Linked DNA regions of Homo sapiens: region 2 is linked to region 1. The links are contacts of gene promoters, found by promoter capture Hi-C in blood cells and fetal thymus (Javierre and others, 2016). All regions are on one chromosome and are shown on one strand. Each heading gives the region's core, a stretch centred on a gene start or on the middle of the fragment in contact. The rest is flanking DNA. Distances are from core to core; before and after follow the strand shown.

Region 1 (7,100 bases), core at 4,601-7,100:
AGGCACTGTTTCTTGACATCCCTTCTCCCAGCTTCTGAACACGGCCAGCAGCATCCCAGGAACATGTTCCTTGTTTATCAACCTATCTCAGCCCACAAGACGGTGTATGTCTCACAAGCAGAGGCCCGATCACCACTCCCAGATCACCAGATGAAAGCACACTGAGGCTGGGGAATGTGTCTACCTCAGCAGCCTAAGGAACTCCCAGAGGGCAGAAAGAGCCTGTGGCAGACTCATTTTGTTTTTAAACAATTTTAATAAAAAATTTAAAAGTAATACCACATTACGTGAAGTTTGAAACTAGAGAATGAAAAAGATCACCCTAAATCCCTTCATCCTGATTCAAGGTTTTTTTGTTGTTGTCTTTCTTCCTTCCTTCCTTCCTTTCTTTATTTTTTGAGACAAAGTTCCACTCTTGTTGCCCAGGCTGGAGTAAAATGGCGCCATCTCTGCTCTCTGCAGCCTCCGCCTCCCGGGTTCAAGCAATTCTCCCACCTCAGTCTTCCTAGTAACTGGGATTACAGGGGCGCGCCACCATGCCTGGCTAATTTTTGCATTTTTAGTAGAGACGGGGTTTCACCATGTTGGCCAGGCTGGTCTCGAACTCCTGACCTCAGATGATCCACCTGCCTCGGCCTCCCAAAGTGCTGGGATTACAGGCGCTAGCCACCATGCCCGGTTGTTGTTGTTTTAAGAGACAGGGCTTGCTTTATTGCCCAGGCTGGAGTGAAATAGCGAGATCATAACTCACTGCAGCCTCGAATTCCTAGCGAGATCATAACTCACTGCAGCCTCGAATTCCTTGGGCTCAAGCGATCCTCCCGCCTTAGCCTCCTGAGTAGCTGGGACTACGGGAACATGCCACCATGCCCGGCTAATTTATTTTTGTTTTTTATAGAGATGGTGGTTGGGTGGGGGGGGGGTCTCATTACGTTGCCAGGCTGGTCTTGAACTCCTGGCCTCAAGCAATCCTCCCGCCTCAGCTTCCCAAAGTGCTGGGATTACAGGCTTGAGCCACAGTGCCCGGCCCAAGGTCTGTTTTTATTTTGTTGAATTTCCATAACCTAGTAAAGTAGATGCTCAAATATCATTCAAATGTGGAATGAATTAATAAAAGGCAACACATACTGAGCACTTAATTATGTGCCAGGAATTGTTTTGAGTGTTTCATTTCACATTTACTGACCCATTTAATATCCACAACATGAGGAGGGTATTATCATGATCATCGCCATCTTCATTTACTTTATTTTTTCCGAACACCAGTGTCACTTGCCAATTCTTTTAGCAACGAGGTAACTGAAGCACAGAGAGGTTCAGTAACTTGCTTAAGGTTACACAGCTGGTAACTAGAGGAGCTGCGAGTTGAACCCTGGCAGTCTGGTGCCAGAGGATGTTACCAGTGCTGCTCTATTTTGGCTTATCTTAATCATTAACGTATATGCAGGTTTAGACTTTTTATTATGAACAGTTTTAAACATTAAAAAAGTAGAGAAAATAGCCCAGGCGTGGTGGCTCATGCCTGTAATCCCAGCACTTTGGGAGGCCAAGGTGGGCAGATCACTTGAAGTCAGGAGTTCAAAACCAGCCTGGCCAACATGGTGAAACCCTGTCTCAACTAAAAATACAAAAATTACCTGGATGTGGTGGCGTGCACCTGTAATCCCAGCCCACTCGGGAGGCTGAGGCAGGAAAATCTCTTGAACTAGGGAGGCGGAGGTTGCAGTGAGCCGAAACTGCACCACTGTGCTCCAGCCTGGGTGACAGAGTGAGACTCTGTCTCAAAAAAAAAAAAAAAAAAAAAGTATAGAAAATAATATAAGGAACTTCATGTCCTCATCACACAGCTTCCATAATTATCACCTCATGGCTCATCTTATTATTTCCCTATGGTTCCCAGTCCAGATTATTTCGAAGCAAATGCAATCACTGTATCATTTCATCCACAGATATTTTAGTATGTATGTATGTCTGAAAGGAGGACTTTTTTTTTTTTTTTTTTTTTGAGACGAAGTCTCTCTCTGTCACCCGGGGTGGAGTACAGTGGTATGATCTCGGCTCACTGCAACCTCTGCCTCCCAGTTTCAAGTAATTCTCCTGCCTCAGCCTCCCGAGTAGCTGGGATTACAGGCACGTGCCACCATGCCTGGCTAATTTTTTTCTATTTTTAGTAGAGACGGGATTTCACCATGCTGGCCAGGCTGGTCTCAAACTCCTGACCTTGTGATCTGCCTGCCTCACCTCCCAAAGTGCTGGGATTACAGGTGTGATCCAACGCACCCAGCCAAGGAAGACTTTTTTTTTTTTTGAGATGAAGTTTCACTCTTGTCTCCCAGGCTGGAGTGCAATGGCACGATCTCGGCTCACTGCATCCTCCACCTCCTGGGTTCAAGCGATTCTCCTGCCTCAGCCTCTCAAGTAGCTGGGATTATAGGCGCCTGTCACCACGCCTGGCTAATTTTTGTATTTTTAGTAGAGGCGGGGTTTCACCATGTTGGCCAGGCTGGTCTCGAACTCCTGACCTCAGGTGATCTGTCTGCCTGAGCCTCCCAAAGTGCTGGGATTACAGGCATGAGCTACCACGCCCAGCCATGGAGGACTTTTTAAATTAAAAAAACAACCTTACCACAATTCCATATCACGCCTAAACATTTAGAATTCCTTAATATCGTTGAATACCTTGTCAGTATTCAAATTTGCCTGATAACTTAATAAAATCTTTTTTTTTTTTTTTTTTTTTTTGAGACAGAGCCTTGCTCAGTCACCCAGGCTGGAGTGCCAATGGTGCAATCTTGGCTCACTACAACCTCTGCCTCCTGGGTTCAAGCAATTCTCTTGCTTCAGCCTCCTGAGTAGCTGGGATTACAGGCGCCCATCACCACACCCAGCTAGTTTTTGTAGTTTTAGTAGAGACGGAGTTTCACCACGTTGGCCAGGCTGGTGTCAAACTCCTGACCTCAGGTGATCCGCCTACCTTGGCCTCCCAAAGTACTGGGGTTACAGGCATGCGTGACCATGCCCGGCCTTTTTTTTTTTTTTTTTTTTTTTTTTTTTAAAGTCAGTTTGCTTGAATCAGGATCCAAATAAGACTTTTAGTTGATATATCATTTAATTTATTTTAATCTGTAAGTCTCTCCCCCTCTTTTTTTTCCTTTTTTTTTTTTTTTTTTTTTGAGACAGGATCTCACTCTGCTGCCCAGACTGGAATGCACTGGCACGATCACAGCTCACTGCAGCCTTGACCTCCCGGGCTCAATTGATCCTCCCACCTCAGCCTCCTGAGTAGCTGGGACTATAGACACACCACCATGCCCAACTAATTTTTGTATTTTTTGTAGACCACGGGGTTTTACCATGTTGTCCAGGTTGGTCTCGAACTCCTGGACACAAGCCTTGGCCTCTCAAAGTGCTGGGATTACAGGCGTGAGTCACCATACCTGGCCCCAGTTTTATTTGTTAAGGGAATTGGGTGTTTGTCCTAATTTTCTTCATTCTAGACTTTGCTGACTATATCCCTGGGGAATGTATGTTATGCTATTTTGTGTCCTCATCTTTTCATATAACTTAGCAAACATTCCCCATACTGCCACAGGGTTTTCACAATCTGTCCTAAATGGCTTCATACTATTCCATCCAGTGGATATACTGTAATTTTTTTCTTGGGCATTTGGTTGCTTTCAGTTTTTCACTACTATAAATATTGCTGGAATGAACATCCTGACACATTGCAGCTTTTCCTGTACATGGGATGACTTCCTTAGAATATGCTACCAAAAGTGTAATTATGGCTCTGAGGCAAGAAGAATTTTTCAGCTTCTTGGCACACAGTGACAAGTGTTTGTCCAAGGGTTTGTATGTCCCCCAGCACGAAATAAGAGAGCTGTCACTCACTCTGAATAGTGCTTAGGGCTATTCACAGCTGAAGAACGTTTGGGGAAGATATGATAATTATGAGGGCCAAGAGAGAAGGAGAAAGATGACAACAGGGACTCCCGCTAAATAAAGCAGAAAGTGATCTGCAATTTACCACAAACCTAGAGTGAGTCAGAACTCTGTTCATTCCTATTGTGAAAAAAAAATCCTCGATAACAGGAGTTATTAATAGTGCATGACATGTTCAGTAATCTTTCTGTTAGACTCTGCATTAGTCAGAACCTTATTTGAGACGTGGACTCAGTCTGGGTCACTGAACTTCATAGAGATGTCAGGAAACTGACCAAGATCCAGAGGGATCGATCAACTTGATGGAGGATGAAGAATCCCAGAGAAAAATCAAAGGAGTCAAGCAGGCACACTTCGGAAAAAACAGAGACACCTTTCTTGCCTTAATGCTGGGGAGGTTTCTGTGAAAAGAACAACACTGGGTTTGCTTATGTCTGCAGAAAGATGACTATAAGGAAAGGCACCTCCACAAACCAGGAGAAACTTCCACAGGACATAGGCAGAGCTATTTCAGACTCAGATGATTATTTCGATCTTGGAATGAGCCCTTTTGGGGCCATTGGCCCTGGAAATATTGAAGAAGCTGCCTGTTCTGCTCTGGGTGGTTCAAATACCCACCTGCCTGGTGACCACTAAGTGCCTCTGGGGGTCCCACTCCAGCTGTGTGACAACTGTTTCCTGGCAGCCCCCTGGGGAAGGAAAGGTAGGTGTAGTCCGAGTAAAGTGCTCCGCAGTTTCCCTGGGCTAGCCTTTTCCTTCCTGTTCCCTCACTTTCAGTTCAGGGTGCCATGAACTGCCATTCAGAGTCAGGTTGGCATGCCATGACATCATCTGACCTTGCTATTCCAGCCCTGCCCTGCATAGAGTGGACTTAGAAAGAAGCTGGGTAAGGAGTTGAAACTACCCAGACAAGACCTCTTGGTGACATGGAGAATGGGAGTAACCGAGGAGACCTCAAGAGCCATTTAGTTCAACCTCCTACAGTAATATTAAGTAGATTCCTACAATGCAACAGGTGCTTTACATACATTCTTTTGGGTTCCCACAACCTTGGAGGTGGGGTTTCACAGGTGTGGAATTGGAGATTAAGACAAGTAATTTGCCCAGGGTCACACTGCCAATAAAGGAGGGCCTACCCCATGTCTACCAGGCAGTAAAGTCTGTGCCCTTGCCTTTAGACGATGCAGATGTGAAAACTGCAGACCAGAGCCTCTCATTCAAAGCCACACAAGCTGACCTGAGACAGAAACTCAGGCTCCTTACTACTGATGGAGGAATCTATGATACGTAGCCTCTTCTCACGTCAGGTGCGGGGCGGCCAAGGATGTGGCCCGGTCCGGGGCAGCCTGGGCCAAGCGTGACTGAGAAGGAGAAGGCAGGCTCCGTTCCGGGCCCTCCAGACCCTCATCCCAGCCAATGTTGTGAAAAGCGCTCTCCCAGGAGGGCCCAGCAGGGCAAAGGGCCGGGCTAGTCTGTTTCTGGAGGAGCCAATCTGGGGCCAGGGCGGAGGCAGCCAGGTGCAGTGGAAAAATCCTGCAGTTGGGGTCAGAATATTTGGGTTTCGATCCAGTCTAGGACCCAGCAAAGACCTACAGAAAGTTACTTACAAGTCCGAGTCTCCTCATCTGCAAAACTGGGGCACGGATAAAATACACTTGAAGGGCACAGAAGCAAAAGTTGGAATTGTTACGCACCAAAATTCTATCATCCGATCTGACCATCACGTCACGGTACAACTTCCAACCGTGCGTCCCCGAAGAGGCCGGGAACGGAGCCCAGGAAAAACTACAACTCCCAGGAGGCGTCGGGAGGGCCGGCCCGGAGCCAGCGGAAGAAACTACAACTCCCAGAAGGCGTCGGGCGTGCCGGCGCGGGGCGGTGACGTACGGGGACCGGCGCGGAGCGCTGATTCGGCCGGAGCTGCCAGCGGGGAGGCTGCAGCCGCGGGTTGTTACAGCTGCTGGAGCAGCAGCGGCCCCCGCTCCCGGGAACCGTTCCCGGGCCGTTGATCTTCGGCCCCACACGGTGAGCCCGGAAGGAACCAAGAGGCCCCAGGGCTACGGGAGGGGCGGGAGAGAAGGTGGGGGCTGCTGGGGAGGCGCCCCGGGCTGGAGAGACGGGGGCAGAGGGAGTGGGGGGTGGAGGGAGTGCATCAGCCGAGGGGGTGCATCGGCTGGGGAGGTGGCCAAGGAATAAAGTGCGAGCGGGAGGCCGGGGGTGGAACGTCGGGAGGAGCGCCTCGGCTAGGGGTGGGAGGCGGGGAGCGGCTCGGCTTCGGGGATAAACGTTTGGCTGCCTCCAGGGCTGGGTGAACGCGTGGAGATGGCTGTGGGGTCCCGGACCGGACCGGGTTCCGAGTGCGAAGACCCAGGCTGGGGAACAGAGCGGGACCCCTCCCCCCGGCCCCGCACCCGAGGTCTCACTCAGAAAACCCCAACAACAGTGAGGACTCCGCCTCTTCGCTCCTCCTCTCCTGTGCTTAGTGCGGGTTCGCCTGGGCACTCGCTTTCCGCTCCTACCGCCCTCCCCCAGTCGGGGTGGCTGGGCCAAAGTTGAGAGGTTATCAGCTGTGGTCCTGCAGCTTGGGGGGTGGGCGGAATGGACATGGCATTGTGACGTGCTGCCCCGGACTCCCCGTTGGGGTCCCCATCCAGGCCTGGATGTTTTGTGCTCCTCTTCCAGAAGACAGGAGGTTTGCTGTTGTGAGGGCTGCTCTTTCCTGGGGGAGGGAATGGGAAGGGCTCACCTGGTGGCTGCCCTGGTGGTGCTCAGCCTTGGCTTGAGTGTCTGGCATACTGGCTGGGCCCGGATATTTGTATGTGGAGCCAAGAGGGTGGGGCGGGAAGGAGGGGGAAAGAGCTACCAGCAAAAAAGTGGTTAACACAACAGAGTTGCTGCAGGCTCTGGTTTGAGGCAGGTTATGAAACCACATCAGGGCCCAGCACTAAGCAGCCACCTGCCAGCTATGGCAGCAGAAGTTTTCGGCTCAACTCCTGTAGACCTAGTCGACCTCTGCCAGCCTCTTCTCTCTGTTTCTCCCCATCTAGGGTAGGGGCCAGTTGGTTGTTTTACTAATGGAAGTGATATGTATCCATAGTCACACGAAAGTCTCAAGAGTGTTTCCTCATTGCCAGTCTTTTTGTTAGTTTATTGATCTC
Region 2 (7,100 bases), core at 3,672-6,171, 140 kb after region 1:
TTCAAAGATGACAAGTTTGATTTTAGACATGTTCATTAGTATTTTCTAATAGAATTTTTCTAAGTAGAACACCCCTTTTCTCTGCTTCAATAAGTCTTCCAGGGAATGGGATGAATCTCTTCATTAGAGCAGGCTAATGCCTTTCCTGGTTTTGGTGGACTGTGTTTGGAGGCTGAGTACTAAGCCTAATATCTCTCAGGAATCTCATTCATACCTTAAATTCTAATTTATTTTATTTTATTTTATCTTTTTTGAGATGGCGTCTCGCTCTGTCGCCCAGGCTGGAGTGCAGTGGTACGATCTCGGGTCACTGCAACCTCCACCTCCCAGGTTGAAGCGATTATCCTGCCTCAGCCTCCCCAGTAGCTGGGAGCCACCATGCCCAGCTAATTTTCTATATTTTTAGTGGAGACGGGGTTTTGCTATGTTGACCAGGCTGGTCTCAAACTCCTGACCTCAAGTGATCCACCTGCCTTGGCCTCCCAAAGTGCTGAGATTACAGGCATGAGCCACTATGCCCAGCCAGCAATTTATTATGGCTTACCTTGAGAAGGTAACAGAGTTGAATATTAGAATAAATTAGAATCTGGTTGGACACGGTGGCTCAGGCCTGTAATCCCAGCACTTTGGGAGGCCAAGGAGGGTGGATCACTTGAGGTCAGGAGTTCGAGACCAGCCTGGCCAACATGGCGAAACCCCGTCTTTACTAAAAACACAAAAATCAGCCAGGCATTGTGGTGCATGCCTGTAATCCCAGCTACTCGGGAGGCTGAGGCAGGAGAATCACTTGAACCTGGGAAGCAGAGGTGGCAGTGAGCTGATCGTGCCACTACACTCCAGGCTGGGCAACAGAGCAAGACTATGTCTCAAAAAATAAAATAGAATAAAATAAAAATAAGTTGCTAATCCCCAGTAACCATGCAGAGAGGTCATCCAGGTCATTCATCTAAAACTGGTAAGACTCCAAAGGCAAACCAGCAACTATGTAAGCCCAAAGGACTTCTCTAATGCCCTGTCCCTGTGTCCTTATGTCCCTGGGTCTCAAATACTGTCTTCCTTGCTCTATAGCTGACTCCTAAAGGACTAAAGCTAAGATCTGCTCTTGAGCCAGGATGGTGTCGTATTGAATTCCAGGTCAGGCCAACTAAAGCCAAAATCCTGAGGGAAAGGAGCAGCTCTCTTATGTCCTCTGTTTTCAGAAAGACTCAACACATTGATCTTACTACATTTTAAAGTTCAGTGACCATGGAGTGGCCTGAGTCTGGTCATGTTCACATTTTCTAACCAAAATGGAAAGGATCCTTTTCTGCTGGCCTTTTCTATCTGCTGTTTTTGGTTTTAAGTAGCTGAAATTTTCCGTTGAGGTTCTTTTAAACGCCTACATGCAAACTGAAGAGCACTCAAGCTTTGGTGGGATATTACCCACAGCTGGAGTGATGGAGGAAGGGAGGCAAGTACAAGCCTCAGGTGCATCCTTCTCTTAAAAAAATAAAAAATAAACACTTAAGCAAACAAATTCCACTTGAAAGCAGGGAAGACCTATCCAGAGAAAGAAGTAAACCTCTTTCCAAGTAGGAAACAGATATCATTTCTTATATAATCCAGATCCATAGGGTGGGCAAATTTGAAACATGTTGGACTTATCCTACAGCCCTACATCTTTGCTAGTCAAAGAGTGAAAAGTTGTGAACCATGAACTGTGGTAGGAAGCAGTGGAACTGTGTGGCAGCCCTGGCTCCTCTGATGGTGGTTAGGCCCTGTCTTGCTCTATTAAGCAAACACAGTTAATATAGATGAAAGGTAACCTTGATAGAAGTGAAAATTGAAACTTGGGTTGAAGGTAGCAAGCCAGGCACAGCTGCAGTTGTACTTCCTCCTATGCAGCAAGAGGAGCAACACTTACTGATGTTTTTTGGAAGGGATGTAGTTTTTTAAAATATCTTTTTTCAGACTGTTTTGGGTTTTAACATTTACACCATTGATGGGAGGGTGTGTAATACAGTTGGTAAGAACCCACTTAGGCCTTATATGTCTAGTGCATGAGGTCAAATCCAAGTAATTGATAGTTCAAGCTTAAGTTTTGCATTCTAATCACACCTCTGCCAGTAACTGGATGTGTAACCTTCGACAAATGACCAAAAACATCTCTGCTCCCAGATTTCCTCATCTGAGAAACAAGAGGGTTGGATTAGATGACCTTTAAATTCCCTTCCAGCCCTACACTCCATTGATTTGTGATTCCTCATGGGGAGGTACAACTTTTGATTTCTAAGGACCAATGGTTGAAAAAGTAAGCATTTATATAGCATATTTTATATATGCAAAATCCCTTACAAATGTTTATTATTCTTACATCAGGCAAATTTTTAGGTTTTACTAGTGTCAGTGCAAGTACATAAATTTGCCTTCTTTGTTTCTTATGTTCTTCATATTTTTCCCACGTTCTTCATATGTTCTTATGCTCTTCATGAAGAGTATTACAGCTCTTCTTTTAAATTTCATTCATTTACATTGCAGTTCTTAAGATAGTACTTGGTCAGCCAACTCACTTGAGCCAGTCCCTCCTCTCCTATCCAGTCCTATTACACAATCCTTGAGTCCTTGAGTTTAGTTCTCCCTAACTTGGGACCTAATGGTCCTTCCCCTTATTTAGATTGAGCCCCACTTACCTGTGTCGATGAAAGTGACTCCTTAGGTTATATGAAAGAATTACTTTTCCTTTTGTCTTTCTCAACACTTTTTCATTAGTACTGACAACTTCCTCTACAGTCAATGTTGTGCCTTTATCAGCTCCAAGAGAGACAGAGATAAGATGTGTTTTAGCAATTCATATACGTGGAAGGGGAAGAGGCAATGCATGGCTTAAAATTAGAAAAACTATGTTAACTAGTCAACTCTTAATCTTAATGGCTTACACTGGATGCATCTGAAGGATTCAAACAATATTTTCTCCTTGAAACCTAAGAGTACATCACCTTGCCTTTTTAACTGCAGCCACCAAAAACAGTACTAGATCTGAGAACCCTTCCTCTCCCCTAGTACTGGAGAAGAGTTGCTCAATGTTTGTTTCATGGCCACTTTGAGCAAACTTAGCTAAAATCTATTATCTGTAATTTTCTGGATAGCCTAAAACACTATCGTCTATTTTTATGTGTGTAAGTATGTGTGTTTTCCTCTGACTGTGGTTCTGAATTTAAATAACGTGCGGTCACGCTAATGGTGCTTTCTTGTTTTGTAGATGTACAGTGTTTTGTTAGCTTCGATTGGTATTTAATTGTCAGTTGTGGGTCTCTGCTGTTTGAGCTGCTTTGATAGCTTCAAGTATAGTCGTTGTTCATTTCTTGCATTTTCTTCCCTGCAGATGATTCAATGAAAGTGAAAGATGAATACAGTGAAAGAGATGAGAATGTTTTAAAGTCAGAACCCATGGGAAATGCAGAAGAGCCTGAAATCCCTTACAGCTATTCAAGAGAATATAATGAATATGAAAACATTAAGTTGGAGAGACATGTTGTCTCATTCGATAGTAGCAGGCCAACCAGTGGAAAGATGAACTGCGATGTGTGTGGATTATCCTGCATCAGCTTCAATGTCTTAATGGTTCATAAGCGAAGCCATACTGGTAAATAGTCTGCTTTTTTCATTCTTCTGAAAACTCTCCTAATGCAGCCACGTGAGAAATGAAGTGGTGGAATTTGGAACTTTTGGTTACTTTCATTGATTTTTGCTATAATGCTGATGTATCTCTCTCTCTGCATTGCTGTTCACTCAGTGCTTTTTATTCCTGCCTCACCATGCATTTGGCAAACATATTGCAAATGCTATGAATAAAAAAAGACTGTAGAGAGCACAGTGTTCTAGGTCAGCCAAATACTTTTTCTTCAGTTTCTAAGTAGGAGTTGAATTGTGTGATTTGCTTCTTAGCCATCTTTTGTATATTTTTGCATAACATTTTTAATAAGAGCAGATCTTCTTATTGTATTGGGTTCAAATTTGGTAAATGAAAGGACATAGTTTTTATTTCCAGCTTAAAATAATGTATCTTCAGACAATAAACAGGTAGTCTATAGAAATGCATACAAACACAACCATCGCACTTGAGCCAGTCGATTCCATCCCATATCTCATATGAAGACTTTAAAAAGGAGAATTTCTAGCCCTCAACACCTTGTAAGGACTTTAGTTTCTGGCTCTTTTTTCAAAGGAGATTATATTCAAAAGGAATACTAAAAAATTAGCCAGGCATAATGGCAAACACTGGTAGTCCCAGCTATTCTGAAGGCTGAGGTGACAGGCTCACTTGAACCCAGGAGGTCAAGGTTTCAGTGAGCCATGATGGGACCATTGCACTCCAGCCTGAGCAACAGAGCAAGAAGACCCTGTCTAAAAAAAAAAAAAAAAAAAAAAGGGAGTACCAAGTAATATAGTAATATAAAAACTTAGATCTAGAAAGCACTTCTAGAGCTGCTCTTGTTTCTTTGCTCTGATTCAATATGATACCTAAAATAGCCTTGCTAGTGGGTGCTTTTTCTCTTCTACAGAGGAGATTTCATAAGTAAGTCTTAGGCTTGCCTTGAAATGCAGCTCCCAACTGATCCCAATGTGAACAGTAATTGTCTAAAAGATGAGCTTTTCCCCTAGGCATCTAATCTGTGCATATGTTTCTCCACTTGCCTGTGACCAGAAATCTCCTTTTTTGTCCTTTTTAAAGGTGAACGCCCATTCCAGTGTAATCAGTGTGGGGCATCTTTTACTCAGAAAGGTAACCTCCTCCGCCACATTAAACTGCACACAGGGGAAAAACCTTTTAAGTGTCACCTCTGCAACTATGCATGCCAAAGAAGAGATGCGCTCACGGGGCATCTTAGGACACATTCTGGTAAGTGAGAGAAATGAGCATTCCTTGTCTAGGAAGTGCATTCCTCAGAGCCCAGTGTGGAAACTAGAAAGAGTTAAGTAGGAAGGTTTCAATCTGTCATTCTTGTTCTGAAGGGTTACAACAGCAGAGACCTCTAGGGCTAATTACACGACCATTAAGGCACTAATTGCTCTCCGTCTGCCTCAGTGGAGATGATCATCTCCTCACCATCCTTGCACCCATGGAGAACAACACAGTCAGATAGGAAGAGCCCACCCTATAAAAAATGTCCTTTTAATTTTTGTGAGAAAATTATAGCCATCAGTATTTTCTTCTGGTAAACTTTATTAGAAGATTATTTTCCCAACACACACACTCTTTCCATTCAAAAGACGAGACAAGCAAATGATGTACAGTTTGTAAATTATGAAAAACTGTGATCTGGATATAAATCATTGTTTGGGGGCTACTTTTTGGCCATTTGGGATAAATTTATTAAATCCAACTTTCCTCTTGATTGGCCCACTTTTTTTTTTTTTTTTAAATAAACATGAGGTCTCACTATGTTGCTCAGGCTGGTCTCAAACTTCTGAGCTCAGGCATTCCTCCCACTTTGACCTCCCAAAGTGCTGGGATTACAGGCAGGAGCCACCATGCCCAGCCAGCCTACTTATTTTAAATCTCTAAAAGATTGAACAACGGTAAAGATTTGTAAAAGTTATGTGCTGTCGTGATGTTTTTACTCCTTATTTTGACCAAGATAATACTTTTTTTTCAAGATTTAGAATTTCCGTCCTAGAAAAATAAGACTGAGTTTATTTTCAAATTTGGGACCTCATGTTCTTGATGTTATCTGGCAAAATTTTAATTGGAAAAAAAGGCTTGTTTTTATGTCAGTTCACATCTACTGCTTTGATTAAAACCTAGCCCCAAACTCAAAACTTGTTATAATTCAGCCACTAGGATTAAACAAGTCAGCCCCAACAAAACCCACCATGAGAGATCATAATTGGCAATTGAAGGGTTTCTCTCTTTTACAGCTCATTTTTCAAAGTAGTGAATTAAGGATGAGTTTGGTTCGAAAAAAATTAGAATAGTTCTCTACTGTTGCCTTTTTCAAGTAAGAAACAATAGTAGGCTTTTTAAAGACAGATTCCAGAGAACCCAATTTATGCAGAAACGTAACATTTTTAGCCCTAGCAAACCTGCATTTGTTTTAATTTAGGATTCCATAAGGATCTTTTAGTGCTTTAAATCCCAAAGCCTCTGTTTTAAACAGAGCAAGAGTTAGAAAATAAAAATTTTAGCCCCTAAAACTGACAAATTCATTGAGTATATTCTATCAACAATCAGAAAGACCAGCCTTGCACAGATAGTTGAAGTTATTACTTACATATTTCAAGCAATAAAGCATTTGGGGAGTTGGCAGAATAAAGTTTGCATGAATTGTATGGGTGAAACCTTTCCTTCATCTTAGACATTTAGACGAAGTCATTTTTACAATTCATTTTTATTTCTCTCTTTTTTTTTTTTTTTTTGAGACGGAGTCTTGCTCTGTTGCCTAGGCTGTTGCAGTGGCGTGATCTTGGCTCACTGCAACCTCCGCCTCCCAGGTTCAAGCGATTCTCCTGCCTCAGCCTCCCTAGTAGCTGGGATTATAGATGCCTACCACAACGCCCAGCTAATTTTGTTTGTTTGTTTGTTTGTTTGAGATGGTGTCTCACTCTGTCACCCAGGCTGGAGTACAGCGGCGCCATCTCAGCTCACTGCAACCTCTACCTCCCAGGTTCAAGCGATTCTCCTGCCTCAGCCTCCCTAGTAGCTGGGATTATAGATGCCTACCACGACGCCCGGCTAATTTTGTTTGTTTGTTTGAGATGGAGTCTCACTCTGCCGCCCAGGCTGGGATGCAGTGGTGCAATCTCAGCCCACTGCAACCTCCACCTCCCAGGTTCAAGCGATTCTTCTGCCTCAGCCTCCTGAGTAGCTGGGACTAAAGGGTCACGCCATCACGCCTGGCTAATTTTTGTATTTTTAGTAGAGATGGGGTTTCACCACATTGGCCAGGCTGGTCTCGAACTCCTCACCTCGTGATCCGCCTGCCTCGGCCTCCGAAAGTGCTGAGATTACAGGCGTGAGCCACTGTGCCTGGCTAATTTTTGTATTTTTAGTAGAGATGGGGTTTTGCCATGTTAGGCAGGCTGGTCTCGAACTCCTGACCTCAGGTGATCCTCCCACTTCG

The links. The method cuts DNA at HindIII sites, captures the fragments that hold promoters and counts their contacts. A CHiCAGO score of 5 or more calls a contact.
Region 2: a fragment that was not itself captured here is called in contact with the fragment with the promoter of ORMDL3 in region 1 in 1 of 17 cell types (activated CD4 T cells); the score reaches 5.1 in activated CD4 T cells.

Annotation. Positions count from the first base shown.
Region 1 is chr17:39,926,351-39,933,450 of GRCh38, reverse strand. It overlaps ORMDL3 (ORMDL sphingolipid biosynthesis regulator 3), which reads left to right and starts at 5,850. Exons shown (of 4, transcript NM_139280.4): 1 at 5,850-5,967. LRRC3C (leucine rich repeat containing 3C) reads right to left here and starts at 5,719. Exons shown (of 4, transcript NM_001195545.2): 1 at 5,637-5,719. LOC124903999 (a long non-coding RNA gene) reads right to left here and starts at 6,731. Exons shown (of 2, transcript XR_007065750.1): 1 at 6,689-6,731; 2 at 6,449-6,523. RefSeq lists enhancers at 5,374-5,985, 5,986-6,596. The HindIII fragment of the contact is 24,326 bases long and covers 1-7,100 here.
Region 2 is chr17:39,789,195-39,796,294 of GRCh38, reverse strand. IKZF3 (IKAROS family zinc finger 3) reads left to right here. Exons shown (of 8, transcript NM_012481.5): 4 at 3,362-3,622; 5 at 4,712-4,879. Among named protein-coding and RNA genes, the nearest start is that of GRB7, 55 kb to the right of the region's middle. RefSeq lists enhancers at 3,315-3,444, 4,542-4,651. The HindIII fragment of the contact is 5,694 bases long and covers 2,075-7,100 here.